Linked DNA regions of Homo sapiens: all the other regions are linked to region 2. The links are contacts of gene promoters, found by promoter capture Hi-C in human tissues and cell types (Jung and others, 2019). All regions are on one chromosome and are shown on one strand. Each heading gives the region's core, a stretch centred on a gene start or on the middle of the fragment in contact. The rest is flanking DNA. Distances are from core to core; before and after follow the strand shown.

What was found. The method cuts DNA at HindIII sites, captures the fragments that hold promoters and counts their contacts. A contact is called where the count stands out against the background at its distance.
Region 1: a contact is called between a fragment that was not itself captured here and the fragment with the promoter of MANF in region 2, in 1 of the 25 tissues and cell types used here (dorsolateral prefrontal cortex).
Region 3: the fragment with the promoter of CACNA2D2 here is called in contact with the fragment with the promoter of MANF in region 2 in 2 of the 25 tissues and cell types used here (lymphoblastoid cells and thymus).
Region 4: a contact is called between a fragment that was not itself captured here and the fragment with the promoter of MANF in region 2, in 2 of the 25 tissues and cell types used here (bladder and dorsolateral prefrontal cortex).

What each region holds. Positions count from the first base shown.
Region 1 is chr3:50,693,512-50,697,072 of GRCh38, reverse strand. All of the region lies in intron 1 of DOCK3 (dedicator of cytokinesis 3), which reads right to left. Among named protein-coding and RNA genes, the nearest start is that of MIR4787, 20 kb to the right of the region's middle. The HindIII fragment of the contact is 5,759 bases long and covers 1-3,561 here.
Region 2 is chr3:51,383,783-51,386,965 of GRCh38, reverse strand. MANF (mesencephalic astrocyte derived neurotrophic factor) reads right to left here and starts at 1,675. Exons shown (of 4, transcript NM_006010.6): 1 at 1,530-1,675; 2 at 631-758. The coding sequence starts at 1,623. It overlaps DOCK3 (dedicator of cytokinesis 3), which reads right to left. Exons shown (of 53, transcript NM_004947.5): 53 at 2,768-3,183. RefSeq lists a silencer at 1,480-1,849 and an enhancer at 1,910-2,259. The HindIII fragment of the contact is 5,502 bases long and covers 1-3,183 here.
Region 3 is chr3:50,502,282-50,505,593 of GRCh38, reverse strand. It overlaps CACNA2D2 (calcium voltage-gated channel auxiliary subunit alpha2delta 2), which reads left to right and starts at 1,960. Exons shown (of 38, transcript NM_006030.4): 1 at 1,960-2,376. The coding sequence starts at 2,171. RefSeq lists enhancers at 832-1,340, 1,341-1,849. The HindIII fragment of the contact is 18,854 bases long and covers 1-3,312 here.
Region 4 is chr3:50,710,247-50,713,518 of GRCh38, reverse strand. The region is part of intron 1 of DOCK3 (dedicator of cytokinesis 3); the gene reads right to left. Among named protein-coding and RNA genes, the nearest start is that of MIR4787, 37 kb to the right of the region's middle. The HindIII fragment of the contact is 4,993 bases long and covers 1-3,272 here.

The DNA of each region.
Region 1 (3,561 bases), core at 372-2,871, 690 kb after region 2:
TGTAATCCCAGCTACTCGGGAGGCTGAAGGGGGAGGATTGCTTTAACCCAGGAGGTGGAGGTTACAGTGAGCCTACATAGCGCCACTGCATGCCAGCCTGAGCAACAGAGTTAGTGAGACTCTCTCTTAAAAAAAAAAAAAAAAATTCAGTGCTATGTGTCAGAAAATCAGGAGCTTTAAAGGTAGGCTTTAAAAAGTATACACACAATGTAGAGAAAAAAGACAAGTTGAAATGTTTAAAGTAGAGATTCTTAACCTGAGTCCAAAGACAAGCAACAAGAAGTCCATAAACATTCTGACACGACTAGTAAAATTTTACTTGTGCATATGCGGGTTTCCCATAGCACTTAACAGATCTTCAAAATGGAATTGACACCTACCCCACCCCACCCCCAAAAAAGTATCACTAAATTAAAGGGAAGATGGTAGCTGCAAATAACATGGTCCTCCCAAAACACCTTGCACAAATCTTTCATGCCTTACTGTCCCCTGTGACCTGAATTTGCTCTCATGCTTCTTCTTCACTCACAAAATCCTATTCACTCATCAACACTCAGTTCTACTTTCACTCTTAGGGATATTGCCTTGCACGCCCCCAGGCTCTGAACTCCTACAGCACATCCTACTTCTATCCATTGTACATGTTTGACATTTACAATACCTTTGTGAACTCGATGTGCATCAGGTAGTCTTATCTCCTTACTGTTCTGTGTCCAGCATCCTTAACTCTCACCTTTTACAAAAACTCCCCCACTCTAGTGATTTCAGTGGGGCTGTCAATCGGACCCCTTCAATAACTGGGCATATGAAGTAGATTGGGCCATACCATTCATTCCCTGAAGTTTTTCTGACTGGAAACAGCTCTTTCCTATTCCATCATGCTGTGTAAACATGTACCCAGAACTGTAGGAGCTATGGTCCCCAATTATAAAAGGAGTAAATTTTTAAAAGTTAATGACTGCAAGAAAGAATGCAACACATAGACACAGAGATATCAAATGGAGACACAGAGGTCTTGATGCCTTAAGGACCTGATTCTGTTCAAACCGTGTTCAAGTAAGACAAACCCCAGGCTATAACCAATCTGGCTATTTCTGTACCTCACTTCATTTTCTGTACATCACTTTCCTTTTTCTGTCCATAAATCCTCCTCTACCACATGGCTGTGCTGGAGTCACTGAGCCTACTCTGGCTCAGAAGGCTGCCCAATTTGTGAATCATTCTTTGCTCAATTACAGTCTTTTAAATTGAATTCAGCTGAAGTTTTTCTTTTAACAGATGGTGTCAGAAGTGGGATCCGAAGTAGAGCTTCTAGCGACCCCCAGGAGCACTGAGTGACCAAGCGAGATACCCACCAGGCCCATTGTGTCCATTCCTCTCTCAGAACAGCTGAGGATTGTGGAAAGTTCTCTCTCGCATTCCAAAGTTCCACAGATTTGTGCTTAGCGCTCTTTGAGTCTCTTTGAGCAAATTTCTGATCCAAACTGGGTTTGGAGGTCATGACAGAAACTGGACTAGGTCTAGGATCAGATTACATCTGATATTAATTGGGCTGGATCCAGTTAGAGGCCTCTTACATCTGACTGGGTCAGAAAGAAACCAGTAGTAAATGGCAATATTGGAGGGGGTATAAAATTTGGCTTTTGGAAATTCACAGGGATTTGTGCATTCTACCCTCTTTGTTTCATTTTTCTTGTGCACTTAGATAGAAAAAAAATCACTAGCTAAGTTGATCAGGGGAACCTGAGAGCAAAGCCAGTATTTGAGGTAAAAACAGGCTCCTTAATTTGTGAAGAACTGAGTTCCTTCTGGCTTATACATGCATAAGTATTAAGCCCTGGAGGCAGCAAAGTCTTACAGAAATGGTGAAATCTTACTAAAGATAAGTTACAGTGCTTATCCGAATGAACAACACTGAACAGAAGTGCATGTGATTGGGGGCTCCCAAATTAGTCTTATCTAGGGATGCCTACTGATATGTAGAAGCTTCTAAAAAGATTGCATTATTTTTATCTAAAGACGTTATCAAAGGCAAATAAAAACCTTAAGTGACTAATTGATTTAAAACAAAATTAAATCTGCTAACCTTTCGGCTTAGTTACTAGCCTGCCCCAAAGGGAAAAAGAAAGCTATCCTATATAAGGTATTTATGAAGGTAGGCCCTCAAGTAAAATAGGCTTGCTTCTTTTTCAGATCTATTTATACTGAGTTCTTTTTGTTTGTTTTTTTGTTTTTCATTTGTTTTTTTGTTTGTTTGTTTTGAGACAGAGTCTGGCTCTGCCGCCCAGGCTGGAGTGCAGTGGAGTGATCTCAGCCTCACTGTAACCTCCACCTCCCCGGTTCAAGTGATTCTCATACCTCAGCCTCCCAAGTAGCTGGGATTACAGGCATGCACCACCACGCCCAGCAAATTTTTGTATTTTTTTAGTAGAGACAGAGTTTCACCATGCAGGCAAGGCTAGTCTCAAACTCCTGGCCTTAAGTGATCTGCCCGCTTTGGCCTCCCAAAGTGCTGGGATTACAGGCGTGAGCCACTGCACCCAGCCTGTTGGCCCCATTCTTTAATGCGCTCCACCCATTACTCTGAACTCAGTAATTTTAGCTAAGAAACAGTAGCTATGTTAAAAAGAATACCCTATTGAACTAAAATACACTTTTCTGGAATTTAATTGGCTATCCTGAAACTCTTTTGTAAAAGAAATCTAAATCTATAAAGGAAATCTCCATTTTTAAGGATATCTGCCTCTAAGTATTAGAAACTCTTACCATTCTTTTTATTTTTATTTTTTTTTTAGTTTTTTTGGAGACAAAGTCTCGCTCTATCCCCCAGGCTGGTGTGCAGTGGCGCAATCTCAGCTCACTGCAACCTCCACCTCCTGGGTTCAAGCGATTCTCATGCCTCAGCCTCCCCAGTAGCTGGGATTACAGGCGCCCGCCACCACGCCTGGCTAATTTTTTGTATTTTTAGTAGAGACAGGGTTTTGCCATGTTGGCCAGGCTGGTCTGAAACTCCTGACCTCAGGTGATCCTCCTGCCTCAGACTCCCAAAGTGCTGGGATTACAGGCGTGAGCCACCACACTTGGCCAACAATTTTGTATGTAGCAAACCTTAAAGTATTTGTTTAAGGCCTATTAGAGCTAATAAATGAATTCAGCAGTTGCAGGACATAAAATCAACATGCAAAAACCAGTTGTATTTCTGTATACGAACAACATGAGAATGATATGAAAAGGAAGGCCAGGTGCGGTGGCTCACACCTGTAATCCCAGCACTTTGGGAGGCCAAGGTGGGAGGATCACCTGAGGTCAGGAGTTTGAAAATAGCCTGGCCAACATGGTGAAACCCCATCTCTACCAAAAATACAAAAAACTAGCCAGGTGTGGTGGCAGGTGCCTGCAGTCCCAGCTACCTGGGAGGCTGAGGCATGAGAATGGCTTGAACACAGGAGGTAGAGGTTGCAGTGAGCCGAGATCATGCCACTGCACACTAGCCTGGGCGACAGAGTGAGACTCTGTCTTAAAAAAAAAAAAAAAAAAAAAAAGGAAAGGAAATTAATGAAC
Region 2 (3,183 bases), core at 426-2,925:
ATGCTCAGTCCAAGCTGACAGCCACCAAATGAATTTAAGTGTCACCAGGGTTCAAACCTTTAACAGAGAGAAAAGCCAGAGACTGTCAGAGAAATTCAAGTTAGAAAACCCATTGCTTCACTAGGGCTTTTGTCTTGGATTCGGCCCTTGCCTATCCTGTAGGCACCCTGTCACCTTCTCCTGTCCACATACATGCCACACTCTTTCAGGCCTCTGGGCACTCACACTGCTGTTCCCTGTATGGGATGGTCTTACCCCACTTCAATGATAACCCTTCCTCAGAGACTTCTTGGCCACTCTAAATCAGCACCTGCTGGTCCATTTTCTTCATGACACCCAGACATTGCATTATTTGTGTGTCCGACTGTCACTTCTTTCCCCTGATATTCCCAGTGCCTAGCACATAGTAGGTGCTTAATAAAGACTAACAGGATAAAAAAAAATCACAGTTGCAGAACACATGCTGCTTTGGGAAGGACATAGAAGCACTTCAGTCTTCTCACATTAGTTTATGGAGAGAGTAGCTGGCTTCCTGAACAGAGAGGTGGGCAAGGCCTTTTATCAAACGGCTGGTGAAGCCGAGGGTTAACATGAGCCAGGGCCAGTTGGGGAGGATCACCAGCTACTTACCAACCGATTCTCTTTGCCTCTTGCTTCCCGGCAGAACTTTATAAGTTCGTTTTCAATAGTGGCTGGTGAGAATGTGACATCTCTGTCTTTGAGGTCCTGGTAAAATCTTCCCAGATAAGAAATACAAACTGGAAAAGAGAGGGACGGGAGATGCTCAGCAATCACCAAGCTGTTCCAATCCACCAGAAAAGAACTCCGCCAGCAATTTTAATAGGAGACACGGAGATGAATCATTAGAGGTGAGCTTTTCCATCACCGATTTTTCTCAGGTGTCTACAGGTAGACAGAACCCGGTTCCAAGTGGCGGGGGTCCCCTGGTACACCCAGGGCATCAAAGGACCAAGCATCACCCAATGACCTATAAACGACTTCTCCCTGCTCCTTTCATCAAGTTTAAGCCCATGGTGAACACGTGTCCTTGAGACGGGACTCACTGTGACCTCATAAATGGAGAGACTGGAAGGTGAAGAGAAAAATGATCAAAATGCTGCTGCTAATTTCCAAATACAACAGCGGACCCAGAGGTGCAGCTTCGTGATCCCAACAGACAGGGCGCAGCACCCACGGCCAGCCCTGGAGCTCCCGACGCCGAACGGGGAGCGGTAACCTCTAGATGGTGGTGGGGACAATAACTCAGGAGTGATGGAGATTTCAGGACAAGTTTTCAACGGGATCTAGTCTCAACTTTTCTTCGTCGGACCAATGTTTTCTAGGCCCAAGAAAGATTTACTAGGGCGGGCGCCGGAGCCTCCTCATGCAGGCCCCGCGGGGACCTGCTGTCGCCCCCGCCCCCGCCCCCGCCCTCGCCCTCTTGGCCCCGGCCGTCTGGTGATGTTGTGGGGTTCAGCGCCGCCGCCAGAACGGTCACGGAGCGCGGCCCCCGGCCCCCTATCCCGCACCTTCGCAGTCGCCCGGCCGCAGCGCCCGGCTGCCCGGCAGCACGCTCAGAGCCAGCGCCACCGCCAGCCCCTGCGTGGCCCACATCCTCCTCATCCTCCTCATCCTCCTCCTCCTCCTCCTCCTCCGCTGCCGCCGCCGACCGACTGAACCGCACCCGCCGCGCCGCACCGCCTCCAAGTCCCGGCCGCGCGCCGTAGCTCCCCATTGGCGGGGGGCCCCCCGGCGCCCTCCCACATGCCACTTCCCCATTGGTCCAGGAGCCGCGAGCCCAGACGGGCGGCTCCACGCTGCCCTCCCTCATTGGCTGGTGGTGTCTGAGCCCTAGACAGTTGTCGGCCGCTGATTGAACCCGGGCTGGCCGCAGGAAGCGACTACAGCAGCGACGGAAGCGGTGTGGGCCGCCATCTTGGGTAAGGGCAGCGACTGTGGCTGAGGCTGGGTACTGCTAGCTGAATGGGGTTCGGCCACGCCTTACATCTGTTGAGTTGACCCGCGTACCCCTGCCCTGGGCCCCAGGCTCCCTCGAAAACCCCTGCTGATCTCCTCGCCCGGACTCCGACTCGTGGTGCAGGAGTTCTGGGGTCAGCCAAGACAACAGGTTAGGCAGGAAGGGCGGGCGGCCGCAGGCAAGGCTCAAAGAGGTTTCTTTTTTCTTCTTTCATTCGCGTGGGCAACGGATCCAACCTTTGAAAGCCCACCTGCTGATCCTCCACCTGACCGGAGCCCGCCGTGCATAGGCTGATAGGAGACGTGCGGGGTGGACGGACTGCGGGACATCTGAAGGAAGGGCTCAAGGCGCGCCAAGCTCAAAGCTGGGCCGCCACTCTAGACCGTGGAGGGAAGCGCCCGGGCCAGATCATCGGTCGAGGACATGGGGTCGCCTCAGAGTGGGAAGGTGAGGGGCTCGGGAGGTGCCCTTACAAGCTCTGAATCGTGGCTTGGTGGCTGGCCAGCCTCCTCCTGCCTCCCCGGCTAGGCCCTCGGGGTCCCCCGCTGCCGTGGGACCTCCTGAGTGGGGTCCCGGGAATCACCAGAGAAGCACTGGAGGATGTTTCCTTTTCGACTGCCCTCCTTTCAAGTGCCCTCCTGGCTGCCTGCCTTCAAGGCAGGATGCGGGAACCGTTGGCTCTACTCAGTGCAAAAAGGACATGTCTATAGGGCTAAAAAGGGCTTGGAGCCCGGCGACAAGGGTTGGAGAGGGGCACATCCTCTGCTCCCATTCAGTGAATTCAGTGGATCAGTATCACGTATTTATCTTTAATTCACATCACAGCAGTCAAGGAAGTGGGGAAAGGGGGAAAAAAAATCAAGTGGCAGATATTTACATCTAAAATTCACATTACTTGTTGGATTTTGAACATGCTACCACAATATATACAGTAAAATACCTCTTGGGACAATGGTACAAATTTTGTTTCCTTTAACTTTGCTTTTCTGGTACAGGTAAGATCATTTTTAAATCACTTTTTTTCTTTAAACATGAATACACAAAAGAAATGGTTAGAAGTTTCCTTGTTTTAAATAAGCACAGAATGCGGGAGGTTAAAAACACATTTATAGTGCTGAATACCAATTGGACATCACACTCTATACATTTTTTGCTCAAATTCCTGTACAAATACACAGCATTCAAATAGGTATTTACAAATAAGC
Region 3 (3,312 bases), core at 711-3,210, 880 kb after region 2:
ACCCACTGTACCTAGACTGACTTCATGTGCCTGACGGCCTGGGCACTTTGGGGATAGCGTTGCTACCCTGGTGTTGGAGGGCAGGGAGGCTGGCCCTCACATTTCTCAGGCCACTGCAGAGTCTGCCTTGGGAAGGCGCCCACCCCCGACAGGGCACCCAAGAGGAATGATGTCCTTTATGATGGTCCCCTGGGGCCATGGGCACAGGTATTATATGTCCAGCAAACAGGTAAGAGAGGATATCACAGGCCAGCCCTACCTTGGGCATGAGGAAGACAGAGATGCTGGGAACAGGTCTCAGCAGGCAGGGCTGGGAAGGCAGCTGTTGAGCTCACGCTTGTCGACTCCTGAGCAGGACCCCTGCCCCCCTGCCCTCCCATTGTGTCCAGAGGTGGCAGGGGGGCAACTGGCTCAGTGAGGACCCTGCTTGTCCCCCCAAAGAGCTGGACTATCGTCTCCCATAGTCCATCAGGTCCCACCTGTCCACCAGGCCCCTGGCCCCTGCGTTGCCTTCCTCTGATACTTTTTTTGGGGTCTCATGGTTTGGGATCTGCTGGCAAACCTGTCTGGCCCCTGAAGGCTCATTCAGGTCAAGGGAGGAGGACACTTCAAGAAATGAAGGAAACTGTTCCCTGTCAAGCCCTGGTTTGCTGGGATTGGAGAAGCCAAGGCAGGACTAGGCAGCAAGGGAAGGCTGTCCTAGGCCCTATTTCCAGCCCCTACCCCTACCCTTTTCAGTCCAGGGGCTACTATTCCCTTTCAACTGCAAGCCCTCCTTGGGCTGACTTGTGAGTGGGTGATAGGAGAGCCACTGATACCATGAGGTGGGGCATCTGGACATTTCCGAACCATCCTGCCCAGCTGGTTACTATCCCTCATTCCTCGTGATAGGCCAGGTCTGTGGGCAGTTATTGCTGAGGGGGTCCTGCCCTGTGTCAAGTTGGTGGGGAGCATTCTCTCATCCTATCTGCACCAGAGGCAGAGCTGGGTTCCAGGGTAACTTCAGTAGAATCCTAGGGATGGTCTCCCCTCATTGTGAATGCTTCAGTTTACCAAGAGATTCTCCCCATTCTCACTTCATCCTGGAAATGGGAGTGGGCACCCACACAAGCATTCACAAGCGAGGACACTGAGGCTCTGAAAGGGCCACAAGCTGTGGAGTCAAGGTTGACACCAGCCCCAGTCTTCTGCCCACAGCAGGGAAGAGCCAGGGGCCTCCAGGACAGAAAGGACTGGGTTGTGCAGAGATGAGCTTCCTGGCTCTGGAAGAATCTAAACAGAGGCTGTGCAAACTCCGGGAACTGGGGCTTGGGACAGGCCTGCACACAGTGCCTGTTCAGCCCAGGGAAGCGAAGCGAGTGGCTGCAGAGGGCTGCATCCTGCCGTCCCCAGCCCCCCACAACCGTACAGCCGTGCCCAGGTTTCCGCTTAGGGAACCAGGAGGTCCAGGCCCTTTCTGCCAGCAGCCGGGCGTGCAAGCCCCCGACAGAGAGAAATCTTAAAGATAGCTAGAGCCACGGGGGCTGTAAGTTCAGCATGCCTCCTTTTCTGGTCTCCGCTGAAGCTGTCACTCCACCATTAAACCTGTGACTCTAGGCCTTAAGCCTGTTGAAGGTCGAGCCCCCAAAAGGGTCACATATGCTCCTGCCTTGGGCCGCGGGGCCCGGGACTCTTCCCGCGGGTGGGGTGGGGAGGAGCGGCAGGGTCTGAGGTGTGGGGGCGGGGGCGCACCCGGGGCGCTCGGGTAGCAGCTGGGGCGCAGGACGCCCGAGCCAGTAGGGCAGGATTCGGGCTGCGCGGGGACGAGAGGCGCGCGGGCACGGGTGGGCGCGTGGCCGCGGCGGGGGCGCGCGGGGGCGGGCCAGCCCGGGAAGAGAGAGGGAGGGAGGGAGAGAAGAGGGCGGTGCCGGCAGGTTGGCGGCGGCTGCTATTTGAGCGCAGGTCCCGGGCCGGGCGCTCAGAGCGCTTGGAGCCAGCGCTGCAGGGAGATAGCAGCGCGCAGCCCGCAGAGGCGCTGCGGCCCGTGCAGCCCCGGAGGCCCCTCGCGGAGAAGGCGGCGGCGGAGGAGAGGCCGAGTTACCGCCCGCCGCCCGCGCCCCCCCAACCCCGCCGCCGCCGCCGCCGCCGCCACTGCCCCCCCTCCCCGCGGCGCCGCATCTTGAATGGAAACATGGCGGTGCCGGCTCGGACCTGCGGCGCCTCTCGGCCCGGCCCAGCGCGGACTGCGCGCCCCTGGCCCGGCTGCGGCCCCCACCCTGGCCCCGGCACCCGGCGCCCGACGTCCGGGCCCCCGCGCCCGCTGTGGCTGCTGCTGCCGCTTCTACCGCTGCTCGCCGCCCCCGGCGCCTCTGCCTACAGCTTCCCCCAGCAGCACACGTAAGTGGCCTCGGCCGGCCGCGAGACCCCGGCCGAGCCTTGCGCCCCGCTCTGCCCCCGGTCCGCGCTACTCCTTCCCTGCGCTCCGCGCCAGGGCAGAGGCGCTGGGTCCGGCTGCCCGCTGCGCCCGGGGGCGACGGCCCCAAGCCCCGAAGGCTGGCAGCCGCGGTCCCGGCGCTCTGGCTGCGTCGCGAAACTTCCCCGCGGTGCCCCTGCTTCCCCCAAATCCCCCGAATGAGGCAAGGCAAGATCTTCAAGCCCCGGGAGGAGTTGGGGGGGGGCGGTCCGAGCTTGTCAGCTGATTCCCCTGCCGCTGACCCGGTGAGAGGGAAACCCGGGTTGGGTGAGAGGGGCGGCCAGCGACCCCTGTCCGGCGGAGTTGGAGCCGCGCATCTGCCCCACGTTCCCTCCCTGGTGGGAATCCGGCGCTTTACAGCCAGAGGTGAGGGACATCTCCACACCTGCCTTCAAGGGCCTTTTCCTTTAGTGGGGAGCTGTATGCTGATGATGCGAGCACCTTCTTGCTGTGGCCAGTGCCACAGAGGCAGTGTCCCCTGTTCTTGGCCCCCCTCCACCTGAGGAGAGAGTACCCTGGAGAGCCCAGTTGGGAGGTGAAGGCGTTGGGGTCCGGGCAGAAGGTGAATGGTGGGAAGGACCCCTGCCTGCGCCTGCTGCTGCTGCCAACAGAGTAATAGCTTCTCCTGGCTCTGCCAGCCTCCGCAGGTTTTTTGGTCCTTCTGAGCCTTCTCCTCCTCCCCAAGAGCCAGCAAACTCGGGCTGCCTCCTACGGGTGAGCTTAGCCAGATGTGTCTGGGGCTGGGAGTGGATGTTCAGTGCATGTGGCCTTTAGGACGTATCAGTTTCCTGACACTGTGCTTCAGCCCTATGTCAGTGCCCAGACCCCCTTTGGGGCACGGTGACCACCTTGCTTCTGTT
Region 4 (3,272 bases), core at 18-2,517, 670 kb after region 2:
CATGCCTAACACAAAATAAATTCTCAACAAGTTTTTAATGAATTGAATGTAAATTTCTTTCTGCATAAACTCTAAATAAGCTCCATAGTTCTAGTCTCTTCTTCCCATTATCCATACTACAGATTAACCTCACTAAAACAAAATGTTTATTTCCTAAAACTTCAGTAGTTTCCCAGTGCATATAAAAGCAAATCCTTAACCTTAACTCTTTACAAGATCCTTTCAATTTATCTTCACCCTGGGGCACACATACCCCTGGAGAAAAATAAAGTCCTACTAAAAGATAAAGAACCACAAATGGTTTTAAGCTAACCCATTTCCAGATCCTTTGTCTCCTTTATAGGACTTCCTCAAATAAATCTGCCTGAGAACACACTTAAAGTTGAGGCACCATACTGGTTCCTCCTTTCTCATCTCCCTTTGTACAGTAATGTCTCTTCACCCATCTTCAAACTAACAAAGGTGCACTCCCCTGATGCTCCATCCAGGACATCAAAGGGATCATTCCAAGAACTGGGAAAGAACCAGAGACCTACATATATTTCTTATTAAGGGCAAAACATTGTCTGTTTTAGGCCTAAGAGACAATTACAAAACATTCCACCCAACAACAGCAGCATAGTTATCAAGTGCTCATGAAACACTTGATAGAGCCTGTTATGCCATAAACAAGCTTCAATAAATGTAAAAGGGCTGAAATTACACAAACTATAATCGATCTCCTGTAACAGTAGGAAAATTAGGGAATATACAAATATGTGGAAATTAAACAACACACTCCTAATTAACCAGTGAGTCAAAGAGGAAATCACAAAGAAAAACAGAAAAGACTTTGAGATGAATAAAAATGAGACTACCACCTGTCAAATCTTACAAGAGGCGGCCGGACATGGTGGTTCATGCCTGTAATCCCAGCACTTTGGGAGGCTGAGGCAGTCAGATCAGTTGAGGTCAGGAGTTTGAGACCAGCCTGGCCAATATGGCAAAACCCCGACTCTACTAAAGATACAAAAATTAGCCAGGCGTGGTGGAAGGTGCCTATAGTTCCAGCTACTCAGGAGGCTGAGGCAGGAGAATTGCTTGAACCTGGGAGACAGAGGTTGCAGTGAGCCGAGATCATGCCACTGCACTACAGCCTGGGCAACAGAGCGAGACTCCGTCTCAAAAAATAAAAATAAAAAGTCTTACAAGAGGTGGCTAAAGAACTGCTTAGGAGAACATTTATTGCTATAAATATCTCTAATAAAAAAGATGAAAAATTTCAAATAACTTAAACATTCACCATAAGAAACTGGAAAAAAGAATAGAAAATTAACTCTAAGGCAAGCAGAGGAAAAAATGACAATGATTAAGGTAAAGGAAATAAATGGAAAATAGAGAAAATTGGCAAAACTGAAAGTTGGTTTTTTGAAAAGATCCATAAATGTGACAGGCCTTTAGTTGGATTGACCAAGATTTTTTTTAAAAGACTTAAATTACTAAAATCAAGAATAAGACATGGAACATCACCAACTACCTTATAAAAGTAAGAAATGATTATAAAAGAACATTATGGACAACTGTACACCAAATCAGATAATTTACGTGAAATGGACAAATTCCTAGAAAGAGACGAATTACTGAAGAAATAGAAAATCTGAATATGCCTGTAACAAGTAAAAAGATCAAATTAGTACTTTTAAAACTTCCTACAAAAAAAAGCACAGCCCAGAAAAGCACAGCCCAGATGGCTTCTCTGGAGAAATCTACCAAACATTCAAATAATTAATATCAATCCTTCATAAACTCTTCCAAAACGAAAGGAAAGAACATTTCCCAACTAATTATATGGGGCCAGTATTACCCTAATATCAGAACAAGACAAAGACATCAAACAAAAACTACAAAGTAATATTTTTTATTAATACAAACACAAGAATCTTCAACAAAATATTACCAGCAATATTAAAAAGGACTGGGCCGGGCGCGGTGGTTCACGCCTGTAATCCCAGCACTTTGGGAGGCTAAGGAGGGTGGATCACGAGGTCAGGAGATCGAGACCATCCTGGCTAACATGGTGAAACCCTGTCTCTACTAAAAAATACAAAAAATTAGCCAGGCGTGGTGGCGGGCACCTGTAGTCCCAGCTACTCGGGAGGCTGAGGCAGGAGAATGATGTGAACCCAGGAGGCAAAGCTTGCAGTGAGCTGAGATCACACCACTGCACTCCAGTCTGGGCAACAGAGCAAAACTCTGTCTCAAAAAAAAAAAAAAAGGACTAAGCAACATTACAAGTAGGATTTTTATTCCAGGAAATGCAAGGTCAGTTCAACATATGAAAATCAATTAATGTACTATGTAATACTAATAAAGGACAAAAACCATAGTAATCACAATATATGTATGCAAGAAAAAAGCCAGTGGCCTTTTTTATTTCAATAGTTTTTGGGAAACAGGTGGTTCTTGATTATATGGTAAGTTCTTTACTGGAGATTTCTAAGATTTTGGTATACCTATCACCTGACCAGTGTATGCGGTGCCCAATGTGAAGTCTTTTATCCCTCTTCTTATGTCTTTACATCCTCATGGCTTAGCTCCCACTTACAAGTGAGAACGTATGATATTTGGTTTTCCATTCCTCTGTTACTTCACTTAGAATAATAGTCTCCAACTCCATCCAGGTTGCTGCAAATGCCATTATTTTGTTCCTTTTTATGGCTGAGTAGTAGTCCATGCTGTCCATATCACAGTTTCTTTATACACTCATTGGTTAATGGGCATTTAGGCTGGTTCCTTATTTTTGCAATTGCAAATTGTGCTGCTATAGCACACATAAACATGGATCTGCAAGTATCTTTTTCATATAATGACTTACTTCCTTTGGGTGGTGAGACTGCTCAATTAAATGGTATTTCTACTTTTAGTTATTTAAGGAATCTCCATTCTGTTTTCCATAGTGGTTGTACTAGTTTACATTCCCACCACCAATGTAAAAGTGTTCCCTTTTTACTACATCCACGTCAACATCTTTTTATTATTATTTTTTAATTATGGCCATTCTTGCAGGAGTAAGGTGGTATCTCATTGTAGTTTTGATTTGCATTTCCCTGATAGTGATGTTGAGCATTTCTCCATATGTTTGTTGGCCATTTGTATATCGTCTTTTGAGAACTGTTTATTCATGTCCTTTACCCACTTTTTGATGGGATTATTTGTTTTTATTCTTGCTGATTTGAGTTCCTCGTAGATTCTGGATATTAGTCCTTTGTTGAATGCATAGTTTGCAAAGATTT